Regions from separate parts of the Homo sapiens genome. Here all the other regions are linked to region 1. The links are contacts of gene promoters, found by promoter capture Hi-C in blood cells and fetal thymus (Javierre and others, 2016). All regions are on one chromosome and are shown on one strand. Each heading gives the region's core, a stretch centred on a gene start or on the middle of the fragment in contact. The rest is flanking DNA. Distances are from core to core; before and after follow the strand shown. Region 1 holds the start of TBX4 (T-box transcription factor 4). Region 2 overlaps BCAS3 (BCAS3 microtubule associated cell migration factor). Region 3 overlaps BCAS3 (BCAS3 microtubule associated cell migration factor). Region 4 overlaps BCAS3 (BCAS3 microtubule associated cell migration factor). Region 5 overlaps BRIP1 (BRCA1 interacting DNA helicase 1).

Region 1 (2,716 bases), core at 73-2,572:
GACAGTATCTTGTTACTTTGTCATTATTTGTAATGTTACAGATCTGAACTCGCTAGTTACTCATCACATCATTACTTCTTGTTATTTTGTCATACTTTGTAATATTGTTGTAGCTCTTAATACTCTGATTATTTTTCATCACATTGGTACAATACTTCTTATTACTCAACCATTATTTATAATGTTCTTGTGACTATTAATACATTGGTCATAAATTGTCATATTACTCCAGCAATTCTTGTTAATATGTCTTTATTTATATTACTATTGCTCCTAAGATTTTAGTTAATATTTCTTTTAATAGTTCACTGTAGTATCAATAATACATTATATTATTATATCACTACCACTAATAGTATTTCCCTTAATAGTATTTTCATTGTTCATCTTTCTCCTACAGTTCGTTTGCTAGTTTCCTACAGTTTGGTAATTTGTTACACTATTACTATATGTTATATTAGTGCAATTGGTTTTAATAAACAGTCCTTACATTGTTCCTCTATTTAGAATTACTTTGTCTTTAATCCTTTTAAAAATTGTGATTACTATTTTCACTTGATTCTGAAAGTGACTATGATTGTATTATTTGGAAGTTCACGTGTTATATCAGTTATGCCGATTAGCCCTTTCTTTGGTAATTGTTCACATTCCAATAATCTTTAATCATCGATCATTATTTATATATAATGTTCCTTGCTTTAATTTTGACTAGTCTATTGCATCAAAGGCTCTGAGTCTAGTGTTCTGATCACTCACATATCTACACGGATTTTCGCTCCAGTACCGGGGCCCTCTTCCTTGGCCTTGCATATTCTGCAAACACCAATTTCCAGGCCACCGCTCCGCCTGTCACGGCCTTGTTCTTAGGGTGCTGGCGCTGTCGATATTTCTATGCTCTTGGATCTCTAGACCCAATTCATCGCGTTACTCAGAGAGGAGGGCTCGTGCCCCAACTACTGGGTGTCGGGCCGAGGCGGCGGCCCGACCCAAGGCACTTCGCGCCGCCTTCCTGCAACTTTGACCGCCCCTGAAGTTCTTCCCCGGGTCGCGTGACTCACCCCTTTCCAGCTCATCCTCCTGTCCGTCCCCGCAGCCTAACCCTGAGCCCCTGTGGCCCCAGCCCCGCACGCCCAGCTCGTCCCCACTCGGCTGGAACCCACACTCACCCTAATTGCGGTGCCGCATGCGGAGGCGCCAGCGGCCCGAGGTCCCCTGCAGGTTCGGGTCCGAGGAGCGCGGGACGGCCGGGGCTCCGACTCCGCGCCGCTGGGTCAGGGTCCAGCTGCCTGCCGTGCCCTCGGGGCTGGACACATCCCGGCTCTGGAGCGGGCCCTTGATCTCCAAGGCTGCACTTTGGGGCCTCAATTCCCTCCTCCTCCCTCCCTCCCTCTGGGGCCGCCCCCCCTCCGCGCTGACGTCGCCGCTGTCAATCAGTCTGCGCCCGCTGTCCCCCGGGGAGGGGGGCTCCAGGGTTCCCCGGCGTCGCGGTCCCCAAGATCCCGAGCCCCACGCGAGCCGCCGGCTCCTCCACCGCGCGGCCCAGTGCCCTCCTCTTGGCCCTCGGGCCCCGCGAGCCGGGTAGGGGCTGGGAGCCCCGCATGGTTTAGATTAGAGAGGCGGGAAGCAAGGGCGAGCAGCCCGGCTCTCAGCCGAGGCTCGACAACCAGGAGGGCTCGCCTGGCCCCGCCGTGCCCGAAGACTAGGACGCTCCACGACCGGGTCTGGCCACCCCCTGCCGGCGCCCGCTTCCAGGCAGCGGCTTCTACGGATCCCCGGCCGCAGAGCCCCGCTCCCCAAGCCCTGCTCCCAGCTGTGCGCGCTGTTCATTTGGGAGCCCCGGTCCCGAGGTCGCAGGCGCACACGCGCCTCACAGGCCCACGCTCCGCTTCCCTACCATGCCCACCACGCGGCCTTGCACTTCCAGGCCCTGGGCACGGCCCTTCTGCTCACCCGCCCTCCTTGTCCCGGCCCAGGGGGCCGCGGGCGCTGGACCCGGCCTGGCGCGCCTCGAAGTCGGCCGCGGAGGTCAGGGGTGAGGACTGGGAGGAAGCCCGGTGGCCGGGTGCGGGGCGGCGGCGGCAGGGAAGTGCTGGGCCGGCCTCTGAGTGGAGCCGAGTCCGGCTCGGGCCTTGACAGAGCCCAGGCCGGGCTGCAAGGTGCCAGGCTTGGCAGAGCCTCCTGGGGAAACTGCGGCCCAGGGCCAGGATTCCGCGGCAGCTCCTTGAGATCCTGGAGAGCTGAAGAGGAAGCCCAATGCCTGCCCTAGTCTAGGAAGTGGAGACTGGGGAGCGTCCTGCTCCCAGCCACCCGGTTCTTTCCGCCTCAGAAACGGAGTCCCGCTCAGCACCTAGACCTCCCTGCCCAGCCTCTGAGCTCTCTGTCTCCACTTACCTCTGTTTCTCTCTGTCTGTACCTCCCACAGGACGCTGCCTTTCCACTAGCAGACGGACCCATGCGGACCCCAGCCCGTGCCCCAGCCTCCCCGCCTGTCACATGCCCAGAATCCTGGGGCAGAAATAGGCCTGCCCACCCATCTGCAAAGACAGCAGAATCCTCATCAATAAGGATCCCCAGAGTGGTCCCTTAGTGCTTAGCATGGGCTGCATCCCTCCCTCCACCAGTGTCCTCAACCAGCCTCTGTCCCTTTCCAGATTCTGACCTCAAAATCAGCTTGAAGGGGAGAGGACAGGGAAATTCTTTTCCTGGATGGGTCTGT
Region 2 (2,716 bases), core at 55-2,554, 480 kb after region 1:
TAGGCTTTGTCTTAAATTCTATTTTAGTTGATACTAATATAGTTGAATTTCCAATATTCTTATGTTTCTTATTTGGATGATGTATCTTTTAATATACATTTACTATCATATTAATGTCTCTATATTCAACACTACCTTATAGGCAATTTCTTCCTTTATATTGGAGTACATTAATATTTAATTTCTATATGGTTGAATTTTGATATACCATTTAATATCTGTTTTCTGTTTATCCCTCTTTTTCTTGTGCTTCTGCCTTTCCTTTCCTGTCTTTTGTATTAACTGAACATTTTTTAGTATGCCATTTTCATTGAAGCATTGATTTTTTATGTATAGCAATGTTGAACCTTGCAATAGTACAGCTCCATATACCTGCCTCCACCCTAGCACCCTCCATCTTTGTGCTATAGTTGTCATATGTATTACATGTACATATAATACAATACCAACAAAATAATTCAATCATTCCCATATATTAGACACAAATTTTTAAAAGGGAAAAATCATCCTTTCTATTCAACAAGAAATGACCATATTCTTCACTATTTCCTAAAGCTGCAAGTTTGCTTCTGGTATTATGTGCCATTAGCATAATTTACAGTGTGGATGTCTCGCCTTTACTGCTCCTTCATCCTTGAGAGATATTGTTGTTTGATGGAAAACTTCAGGTGGCCAATATTTTATTCTTTGAGTCCTTCAGACATGTTATTCCACTGTCTTCTGACTTCCATGGTTTCCAGTGAGAAGTCAATAGTGTGTTAAAATGTACTTTCTGTGTGTGCAATGCATTACTTTTGTCTGCCTACTTTCAAGATTTCCTCCTTACTTTGGTTTTCAGAAAAATGACTATGATGTCCTTTGACATGGTTTTTGTTGTACTTAATCTTATGTGTTGTTTGCTTATCTTTTTGAAGTTGTAAATGTATGTCTTTCAACAAAAGTGGAAAGTTTCCCACTTTTAGATTTTTTTTCCTCCCTTACTCTCCTCACCTTCTGCAATAACTACATGTATGTTGGCTCTGATATTGTCCCACAAGTTGCTAAGGCTCTACTTATTTTCTATTTTTTCACTCATTTGGTTTGGAAATTTCTAGTGATCTATCTGCAAATTCATTTACTCACTCAAATTCTGCTATTAACACATCCATTTCATTTTTATTTTTGATATTGTATTTTTAAGTTGTAGACTTTTCACTAGGTAATTTCCTATATTTTCTCTTTCTCTGCTGACATTTCCTACCCTTTTATTTAAAAGAAGCATATTTTCCTTCATATCACTGAGCATAGTAATAATAGATGCTTTAAAATAATTTCTACTAGAAGATGGAGACTTCCAGTTCCAAAACGGTGGTATAGAAGCTAGCTGGCTTCACTACCCCTGCAGAAAACCAAAAACAAATATATAGTACCGAGATTTTAACCAGAAACACTCAGAACTCAAATATGAGGATGAGACAATTCCTGAGGCCACAGAGAAGTGAAAAAGAAAACCTCAGAGTGAATGGTAAGAGATTCAGACTTCCAGATCTGTAATGCCCCTCCCCCGATTCTGCCTGGCATCAAGAGCACAGAAAATCTCCCCCCCCAACTCATGGTGACTATACTGGAAAAAGTGAGACTGAGGTGGTAAACCAGCTTTCCCACCATCTTGGGTGCTCTGGCAGGAAAACTATCCTTGCCTTAACTGGCAGGAAGTATCGTGGCTGCCTGATGGGAGAAACAACCCTGAGGACAGGCCAAGACAAAGTGGGGAGGCTAGACTACCATCCCTAGCCCTGGAAACTTTGTTCCATTACTTGGCCAAAGGAGACACCAAATTAGAGTGGCTGTTCAGCAGCACCATGTAGTAGGCAATACATTACAAAGGTCCCTGGGCACAAACCCCTAGCCAGACTTGACACACTGTGGGGATAACCACTTTGGGATGCTCCCAAATCAGGATAGGCAGTACTACAATCATTTAGCAGAGCCAAGGTGAACCTGGGCTTTAGGTACCACCTATATCCAAAAAAAAAAGGCAACAACTTAGCTGTAAAGATTCACTAACAGGCCAGACACGCTGCCTCATGCTTGTAATTCCAGTGCCTTGAAAGGCCAAGGCAGGTGAGAGGATCACTTCAGGCCAGGAGTTTGTGACAGGCAGGGCAACACAATGAGAGTCTGTCTCTAACAACAACAACAAAAAAAATTCTTTTTAAAGTTAGCCAGGTATGGTGTCACGTGCCTGTAGTCCTAGCTACTCAGGAGGCTGAGGTTAGAGGATTGCTCCAGCCCAAGAGTTCAAGATTACAGTGAGCAATGACTGCACCACTGTACTCCAGCCTGGGCAACAAAATGAGCCCTGACTCTAAAAGGATTAAAAAAAATGCACTAAGCAAAATATACCCAATAAAATCAAAACAAGGTAGACAGATAAAACTGAAATAAAGTATCAATGCAAAGATACAGATATACACACGAAAAAAACAACAGCAAGTAGGGAATTATGACCTCTCCAATGGACAAAGCAAAACTCCAGTGACAGACCCTAATGAAAGAGTGATCTGTGAGCCCTCTGACCAAGAATTCAAAATAGCAGTTTTAAGAAAACTCAGTGATCTCCAAAACAACAACAACAACAACAACAACAACAAACACACAGAAAAGCAATTCAGAAATTTATCAGAGAAATTTAACAAAGAGATTGGGAAAAAATATAGAAATCTTGGAACTGAGA
Region 3 (2,716 bases), core at 94-2,593, 440 kb after region 1:
CTTATGCTTTGTCCTAAATTATGTTTTCCCAGACATTCTATACTATAAAAACACAGAAGAAAAATGGATTAAGTTGAGGATAAAAGTGAACAGAGAAAATAACAATGGGCTTTGTTGCCACGCTGGAGGAATAGCTTGTCAGGTCAGCTTTGCAGAGAGGCATATTCCCAAACCAGTCATCATTAACAGACTCACTTCCACAGGAAAAAAAAAAAAAAAAAAAAGACAGAGTCTGAAAACTCCGGACAAAAGAAATCCCTGCAGACAAAGTAAAAACAAATTAAAAGACCCATTATAAAACACAGATGCTACAAGGAAAATAAACTTTCTAAGATTTACTGGGCTTTGACAAACTTGGACATTTGTGGAAAAGACATCAGCAGCAACTCCCAGGTAATGTGGCTGCAAAGTTAGACTCCCTTCTGTTTTATCTTTACCCTCTGTGCAGAAGCTGCCAGGTTGGTATTCTTAGCTTCTGAATGCAGTGATGTGAGAACATGTGAATGTGGCAAACTGCCAACTGCAAGAACTCTCTGAAGCTAGCAAAACTGAAATTGTTGAACATTTCAGATTATGTTAAATATTAAAGTTACTATCAGTGTATCTGTGTGTACATATGTATAGTTGTCTTTCTTCCGAGATACAAACAAGAAGAGGGAAAATAAAAAATGAATGTATTTGCATCCTTTCTACCTTTAAAAAATTTCCATATCTTACCATATTGTGAACCAAAGGACATAAAATCAGTTAAAATAACATTAAGGAATCAAATGACAATAGTTGTAGATCAGAAAGTACCTTAAAGGAGTGTCATACCAGAGAGAGAGAGAAATTTTTGTTACAGGTTTCTAAAAGTTATTGTTAATGGAGGACAAAGAAAGATTCTTTAGGAACAGAAGGTATGAGAAACTAAGACCTACAATGGAATAAAGTGGGTCAAGTGAAACATTTGGAGGATAAAAAGAGCACTGTCCTTCTGTTGTCATTAGACATATGAGGTAAGTATAGTATTAGAGTATTAGAGATAAGTATAGAAACGGCAAAGCTTCATTTGCAAAAAGAGCTAAAGGACACTAAGCAATGGTGCCCTGTGAAAGAGCAGTGTTATTAGGAGGTCCACATATCATCCCACTTATTCTTACCACAGACACAGACCTTATCCACTTTAGGCACTCCACTTTTCTGAAGGTTTACAATAGACACCTTCCTATAACTCAGTACTCTAGACTCCTACGACTGTATTAAATTCTGTTCTCATCACCTCTCCATACACTTATCTACAACACCCACTATTGTTCTAGGATATAAGCTCCTCACCTAGTGTCTTTGGTCTCCTATTTGGAACTCTTGCATTTTGAAATCGGATTACTGAGCCACACTGAAGCCCGAGGTCAATGTGACTCTCTGGCACTCCTCAGAAGACAATTCTACGGAAACAGCCCCAGTCCCAAATATCTCCTTTATTTTTGCCCTCTTTGCAACACTTTACCTATTCTAAGACATCATGTAGATGTTCTATTCCCTATATCATATCTTTCAAAAATAAAAACTAGATGATGAGTTCTACGGGGCCTTTTTTTTTATTTTTTTATTTTTTATTTTTTGGTAAACTTTTGTCTTCTACAGAAGAGCAAAGCTTTTGGACTGTTTTTAATATCTTGCTGTGGAATTGACAGGGATAAAAATCTAAAATATACCAAGGAGTTTAACTAAGTTAATTCTGTAGTTGAAAAGCTCTGACTTCTTGACTCTGTCAAAGAATACAATGGTAGCTTGTTTTGAAATAGTCACTGGAAATGTGGGCTCTGAAAAGTTAAAAACACTGCTTAGTTCTTGCTTGCCATCCAATTTAACATTAAAGTTTTTTCAACCAAACTCTCAATAGTTATTTAACAAAAAATACCCTGTGTAGAAGGGAATTTCCTGCAGGTGGGTTATTTTTGGTTGGGATGGGAGTGTGTGTCTCTCTCTCCATCTCTCTCTTCTCCCCTTTCCTAGATGAGAATGTCAAGCTTCCCAGCTGCAGTTCCAGGACTTTCACCCTCCTTTATGACCTTTTCTCAGGCATGTTCCAGTATAATCTGCAATCTACTCAAGTCGGAAAAGGAAACAGCAGCACCCTGGTGAGAAACAGTGCCTTCTGACCCACATACCAAACTGGGCGGAAGCAATGCTTGTTCACAGGAGCCAAGGAGAGTAGAACACACACTAAAAGAAAATGAATTTTATGTGTGTGTGTGTGTGTGTGTGTCGACACACAGACACACATTTTTAAAGACTATAAACACAACAAACAGTTTGGGTGACAAATAAAGACAGAAAATACTGAAGGACAATCCTGTGTGGGCACTGATTCATTTTGCCTATAACTTTTTTTTGGAGGCAATCGATGGTGAAGTAAAAACACTGCAATTTTTGATGCATTTCAAGCAAAAACACTTGTTGCTTTCTTTGAGTAAAAAGTTCACGTCACCATAGACATTACTGTAGGTACTTTGAGAAAGGGTGAGAAGGTAGGAAGATTAGAGAAATCTCCCACAAAATGGACTTGAAAACAAGAATCCAATCTTTCTTTTTTTTTTTTAAACAGGATGGGGATTGAGATTATTAATGATAGTGTCATCACTTCTCCCCACTACATACAAAGTAGCCTGCATGGAGCTTTGCCTAGGGCTTATTAAATGTCACTAGAATTAAAAGTGTACTTTCAGGAGAA
Region 4 (2,716 bases), core at 65-2,564, 420 kb after region 1:
AGTAACATTTTAAAGGAGAACCTTTTAGTCTAGTATAAGTGACTAAAAACGAGTTTCTTGTGAGCTAACGATGGCATCAAACAAACCACAAAGCAGTCTTCTAAAAGACAGGCAATGATTTAAAAGTCTACTATATTTAATATATCCCTTTCTTTAATCTGGCTCTTTTAATCTTGTTTCAACCTCAAATCATTTCTGGTTGACAAGTGCTTTTGCTTAAATGTGAGGAGCACGTAAGCTGTTGAAGGAATGAACTTTACTTACTTAACATACAACAGTTGTTATTCCATCTTTTACTTCTATGCAAAACTTCAATCTTTATTAACATACTACAACTCTTTGCTTTGTACTTAGAAGAAGAATTTATCCTAAAATGGAATTTAATTCTAAGTTTACAAAGAAATTTTGTCATATGTTGAATGTGGCATTTAAAATTCACTGATCACTGGAAGGCTCATAAGTAAGATCTGTGTATCTTATTTGTTTTTAGAAGACATCTGGTTAACAAAATGAATAAAGATCAACTTTCATGAGATTTATATTCTTGTATATCCTGAATTTGTTTAGAATAGTTTTGCAAACTGTGTCTAATTATAATTTTCAAGGAGGAAAATTTTATGTTGATTTGTTTTATGTCACCTATTATTAAGCAATAACAAAATTTTCAGATCTTCCTATGGCATATAAACATTGAAATAAGTTTGTGTCAAATAATAATTAACCTTAAAGAACTATTTAAGCTTCTTTCTGTCCAAGAGGAAAAAACGTTGGAATGTTTTTTTCTAGTGTAATAGAACAGTATGAACAATCCCCATTTAGCAGTTATGAGAACTACACATATGTGCAGAACTCTTTTCAGTATTCTGACTAAATTAATAAAATTAATATAGCTTACATTTCTCAAAACTTCGCACTGGTTAACATATCCTTAAAAGTGAAAAACATAATCTAATTTAAATAAGCTTCTTTTGAAACACGGTATTTTTCCCTGAAACAGGAAAAGAAACAGTGGTAGCAGCTAACATTTACTGCACATTTACTATGTGCCAGGCACTGTTATATACTAACACATACTGAGATATGTATCAGCTTATTTAATACTCATAGTGAGTCCATTACATAGGTACATTTAATACATAAGGAAATAAGAAATAGAAAGGTTTTAGAAAACTCCCCCCAAATCATATAGCTAGTAAGTGTGTCAATTGGGATCTAAGACCCAGGCAGTCTGACTCTTAACCATTAAACATTTTATACCATTCTTAACACATTCTACTTCCTATCTTTACATGAAAGTATTAAATATATTCGAATTCTTTTCTATGACCTTCCTGTCTAAGACTGACAAAGCTGTATTCTGTGCACTGACATGAAAGAATTTACCAAATAATTAAGCTATGATGAGTATGTGCTAATAATTCAAAATAATAAATTATTTAGGAGGTTTTATGTAAAATATATATTTTGTCATTATGTAGCTCCTTAAATACCTAAACTATTCAAAAACAGAACTTTTGTCTCTTTAGGACCAAATAAAATGCAACAAAAACTTTATAAGGTGCTTTTGGTATACCTTAAATATATTTATATTTCAAAATAAATCATGTCCTCAAATGCTATGCATGATATGTAGGTAACTTCTAATGCCATAATACTCAAAGCTTTAAACTTGGGTGTTAGCCTTGTCTTGTAATATTTACGAGCATTATGAGAGAATTCTTCTATTTAAAAAAAATTCATCTGTGGTTTTTTTTTTTTTGTTTTTTACTTTTTAAAGAATGAAGTGAAACCAAGAAAACCACTTTTCTAAAGCTTAAATATCAACATTCATGTTCCATCTACAAATTATTCAGTAACTTGGTGCATCTATCTGTGATCAGGCCATGCAACTGGAAACAAAACTACAAAACAAATTACTTTTTGAGAGTACAGCAAATGAATGAGGCATGCGGGACTGAACTGGAACTCACCATGGGGCTTTTATGGAAAAACACCCCGCTCCAAAGAGATAAGGCCTTCATGGAAAAGGGGGAAAAATGCACAAAAAATTAGAGAAAAACTCATTTAACATTAGCAAATACAAGTATATCATACTGTTATAGAGTATGGATAAAAATAACTAAAAAATTAGTAATCATTTACAATTCTGCTGTACATACTGTCTGATATAACCAATAAACAGAATGATGTGTAGTAACAAGGCCCTTAATTTTCAGAGTTAGAGATTCAAAATTTTCTATTTCTCCCCCTTTTCTGGAGCACCCCTGTAGTATTTCTAAGTTAAAATAAAATAAAATTCACTGCTGAAGCCCTTTAAAACAAGGTATAAGTTAAATGGAATAACCAGATGGAGAAGAGTGAGATCAATAGCAACAAATGTGTAGCTATGTGACACAAAATGGTTAAAATTAGCTAACGATGACTGGATAAAAAATTTGATATGAATTGTCTGCTTTTCACTGGTTCCAGTCTCAGAACCACAGAAAGAGGCACATATTTTTCAAGCTGCTTATTTGTCGTAAGTTGAATTGTATATTGTTGGTCAAAGGAAAAAACACTAAGTACAACTAGTATAATTTTTCTCTATTTTTGGCCATAATCCAGGAAATTAGGATATCTCTTAATAGTGGTCTAAGAGGTTAGCTTCCTTTACCTGGTCTGCACTAGATTAGGTTAGTACGCAGCAAACTAAAGCTACAATCACTTGTTTTAAATA
Region 5 (2,716 bases), core at 64-2,563, 390 kb before region 1:
AGGATGGATGTCCTGGGGAGAAGCGCCTGTAGGATAGTTTGGATTGTGAGCTGACTAGCCACTTTTTGTCATGGAACATCATTTTTGCTTGAAAAAGAGTGAATGATATACTAACCATGGTAATTCTTTATGATAAAATGAGCCAGATAAAATTTGAGCTTTCAAGTGAAAATCAGAATTTTAAAAAATTTGTATATACTCTGAGCTTGGCAGCTTTGTGATAACTACAGACTTTTCTGATGAAATTGGTGATATTACAGAATATGACTTTTTATATTTATATAATGAAATGTGTCAACATTTGTAAGATCTGTAAAACTCAATGAACTTAAACTCAGCGAACTAAATATTATTTAAATGACCAGTGCATGATATTGCAAAATGATGCCTAGAAAAGGTCCATCCTAAGTGCAAGATAGACTGATGGACCTTTTTTCTGCCCTGTCCCCCCATTCCCAGGCAACCACAGATTTGTTTTCAGTTACTGTACATTTAATTTGTGTTTTGTTGGTGATCTTCACTGAAGCTTTATATTAATAGTTGGAGAAATTATGTAGAAGCTTCTTCTGTTAAATTGCAATAATCATCAACATCATTATAATGTAAGCTATATGTTGAGCTCTGCCACAGTGTTTTCTCATTCATTTTCTTTCCTTTCCTTCATGGGCTTACTATTATCTGAAATTACTTGATTACTTGTTTATTATTTGTCTGTCCTATTACGATGTAATGTCAGTCTTTTTCATGTGTGTCCCTCATGCCTAGAATAGCATATGGTGCATATTAGTTGTCTAATAAATATTTATTTGTTGAATGTTACTGAGTTCTTACAATGATTATGAAGCAGGTATATTGGTATTCCCATCGTACAGATGAGGAAACTCTGAGAAGGAAGAAACTGGCCTAAGATCACAAAGCTAGTAAATAGTAGAGCTAAATCCTGCCTAGGCATTCTCATGTTCTGGCAAATGCCCTAATCACTTTATTTTATATTCTCTCTAAAATGCCTCTTTGCAGTCCTGGAGCCACCTAAATAGGGTTCTAACACCAAGATAAGGAAAGAAATATGTAGAAGCTCACAGATAAACAAATCAAGTATAGAGTCACCTGTGATTAAGATTTTTTTTTCTTGGGAATTGTTTTTGTTTGCTTTATTTGTAGACACAGGGTCTCAATGTGTTGCCCATGTTGTAACGCAGTGGTGTGATCATAGCCCACTGTAACCTCAAAATCCCAGGCTCAAGTGATCCTCCAACCCCAGCCTCCTGAATAGCAAGGACTACAGCTGTGCAACACCATGCCCAGCTAATTTTTTATTTTTATTTTTTGTAGAGATGAGGTCTCACTGTGTTGCCCAGGTTGGTCTCAAACTCATGGCCTCCAGTGATCCTCTTGCCTGGGCCTCCCAGAGTTTTGGGATTATAGGCATGAATCACTGCACCTGGCTTGTTTTGTTTTTATTGGTTAAGAGAATGGACTTTGGACACATACTGCCTGATCTTAATTTTTAAATAAAGATTGGGCCAGGCATCATGGCTCATGCCTATAATCTCAGCACTTTGGGAGGCCAAGGTGAGAGGATTGCTTGAGGTCAGGAGTTCAAGACCAACCTGGGCAACATAACGAGACCCTGTCTTTATAAAGAATAGAAGAAAAAAAATAGCTGTGTGTGGTGGTGTGTACTTGTAGTCCTAGCTACTCAGGAGGCTGAGGGAGGGGGATCCCTTGAGCCAGAAGATTGAGGCTGTATTGAACTATGATTGAACCACTGTACTCCAGTCTGGGTGACAGAGCGAGACCCTGTCTCTAAAAAAAAATAAAAAATAAATACATAAAATAAAAATTATATATATTTTAGGTGTAAAACATGATGTTTTAATATATATATACATAGTGAAATTATTACTACAGCCAAGCTGTGATAGTCTGTTTGAATTGTTATAAAGCAATACCAGAGGCTGGGCAATTTATAAAGAAAAGAGGTTTATTTTCACTCACAGTTCTGTAGGCTGTGCAGGAAGCATGGTGTCAGCATCTGCTTCTGGTGAGGGCCTCAAGAAGCTTACAAGCATGCCAGAAGACAAAGAGAGAGCAAACTTGTCACATGGAAAGAGAGGACAGAGGAGAGAGCAGAGGAGGTTCCACACTGTTTTAAATAACCAGATCTCGTGTGACCTCAGAGCAAGAACTCAACTCATTACTGTGAGGAGGGCACCAGCCATTGATGACCCAAGCACTTTACACTAGGCCCCACCTCCAACTTGGGGGATCACATTTCAGCATGAGAGTTGGAGGGGACACACTTCCAAATCATATCACAAGCTAATTAATATATTCATCTCCTTACATAGTTACCTTTTGTGTGTGTGTGTGTGTTGAGAACACCTGAAAATTTTAAAGCCAATATCGAAATATCCAGCCTAGAATATAGTATTATTAACTGTTGTCATGATGCTGTTCATTAGATCTCTAGACTTGATTCATCCTATGTAGATTCAACTTTTTACTCTTTGATCAACATCTCCTCAAATCCCCCACCTCCCTGCCCCAGTAACCATTGTTCTGATTTCTGTTTCTATGTATTTGACTTTTTTAGATTCCACGTATAAGTGAGATCATGTAGTATTTTTCCTTCTACATCTGACATATTTCACTTTGCATAATGTCCTCCCTCCAGGTTCATCCATGTTGTCACAAATAGCAGGATCTTTTTTAG

What was found. The method cuts DNA at HindIII sites, captures the fragments that hold promoters and counts their contacts. A CHiCAGO score of 5 or more calls a contact.
Region 2: a contact is called between a fragment that was not itself captured here and the fragment with the promoter of TBX4 in region 1, in 4 of 17 cell types (naive CD8 T cells, total CD4 T cells, naive CD4 T cells and 1 more). The highest score is 6.0, in naive CD8 T cells.
Region 3: a contact is called between a fragment that was not itself captured here and the fragment with the promoter of TBX4 in region 1, in 4 of 17 cell types (naive B cells, total B cells, naive CD4 T cells and 1 more). The highest score is 8.5, in naive B cells.
Region 4: a fragment that was not itself captured here is called in contact with the fragment with the promoter of TBX4 in region 1 in 2 of 17 cell types (total B cells and naive CD4 T cells); the score reaches 6.0 in total B cells.
Region 5: a fragment that was not itself captured here is called in contact with the fragment with the promoter of TBX4 in region 1 in 3 of 17 cell types (naive B cells, monocytes and M0 macrophages); the score reaches 6.2 in naive B cells.

What each region holds. Positions count from the first base shown.
Region 1 is chr17:61,451,028-61,453,743 of GRCh38, reverse strand. TBX4 (T-box transcription factor 4) reads right to left here and starts at 1,322. Exons shown (of 9, transcript NM_001321120.2): 1 at 1,167-1,322. It overlaps LOC124904042 (a long non-coding RNA gene), which reads left to right. Exons shown (of 2, transcript XR_007065872.1): 2 at 1-502. RefSeq lists an enhancer at 511-1,352. The HindIII fragment of the contact is 10,401 bases long and covers 1-2,716 here.
Region 2 is chr17:60,967,867-60,970,582 of GRCh38, reverse strand. All of the region lies in intron 14 of BCAS3 (BCAS3 microtubule associated cell migration factor), which reads right to left. Among named protein-coding and RNA genes, the nearest start is that of BCAS3-AS1, 170 kb to the left of the region's middle. The HindIII fragment of the contact is 4,247 bases long and covers 1-2,716 here.
Region 3 is chr17:61,007,577-61,010,292 of GRCh38, reverse strand. The region is part of intron 15 of BCAS3 (BCAS3 microtubule associated cell migration factor); the gene reads right to left. Among named protein-coding and RNA genes, the nearest start is that of BCAS3-AS1, 130 kb to the left of the region's middle. The HindIII fragment of the contact is 591 bases long and covers 1,048-1,638 here.
Region 4 is chr17:61,026,165-61,028,880 of GRCh38, reverse strand. The region is part of intron 16 of BCAS3 (BCAS3 microtubule associated cell migration factor); the gene reads right to left. Among named protein-coding and RNA genes, the nearest start is that of BCAS3-AS1, 110 kb to the left of the region's middle. The HindIII fragment of the contact is 699 bases long and covers 965-1,663 here.
Region 5 is chr17:61,843,034-61,845,749 of GRCh38, reverse strand. All of the region lies in intron 6 of BRIP1 (BRCA1 interacting DNA helicase 1), which reads left to right. Among named protein-coding and RNA genes, the nearest start is that of BRIP1, 19 kb to the left of the region's middle. The HindIII fragment of the contact is 1,501 bases long and covers 563-2,063 here.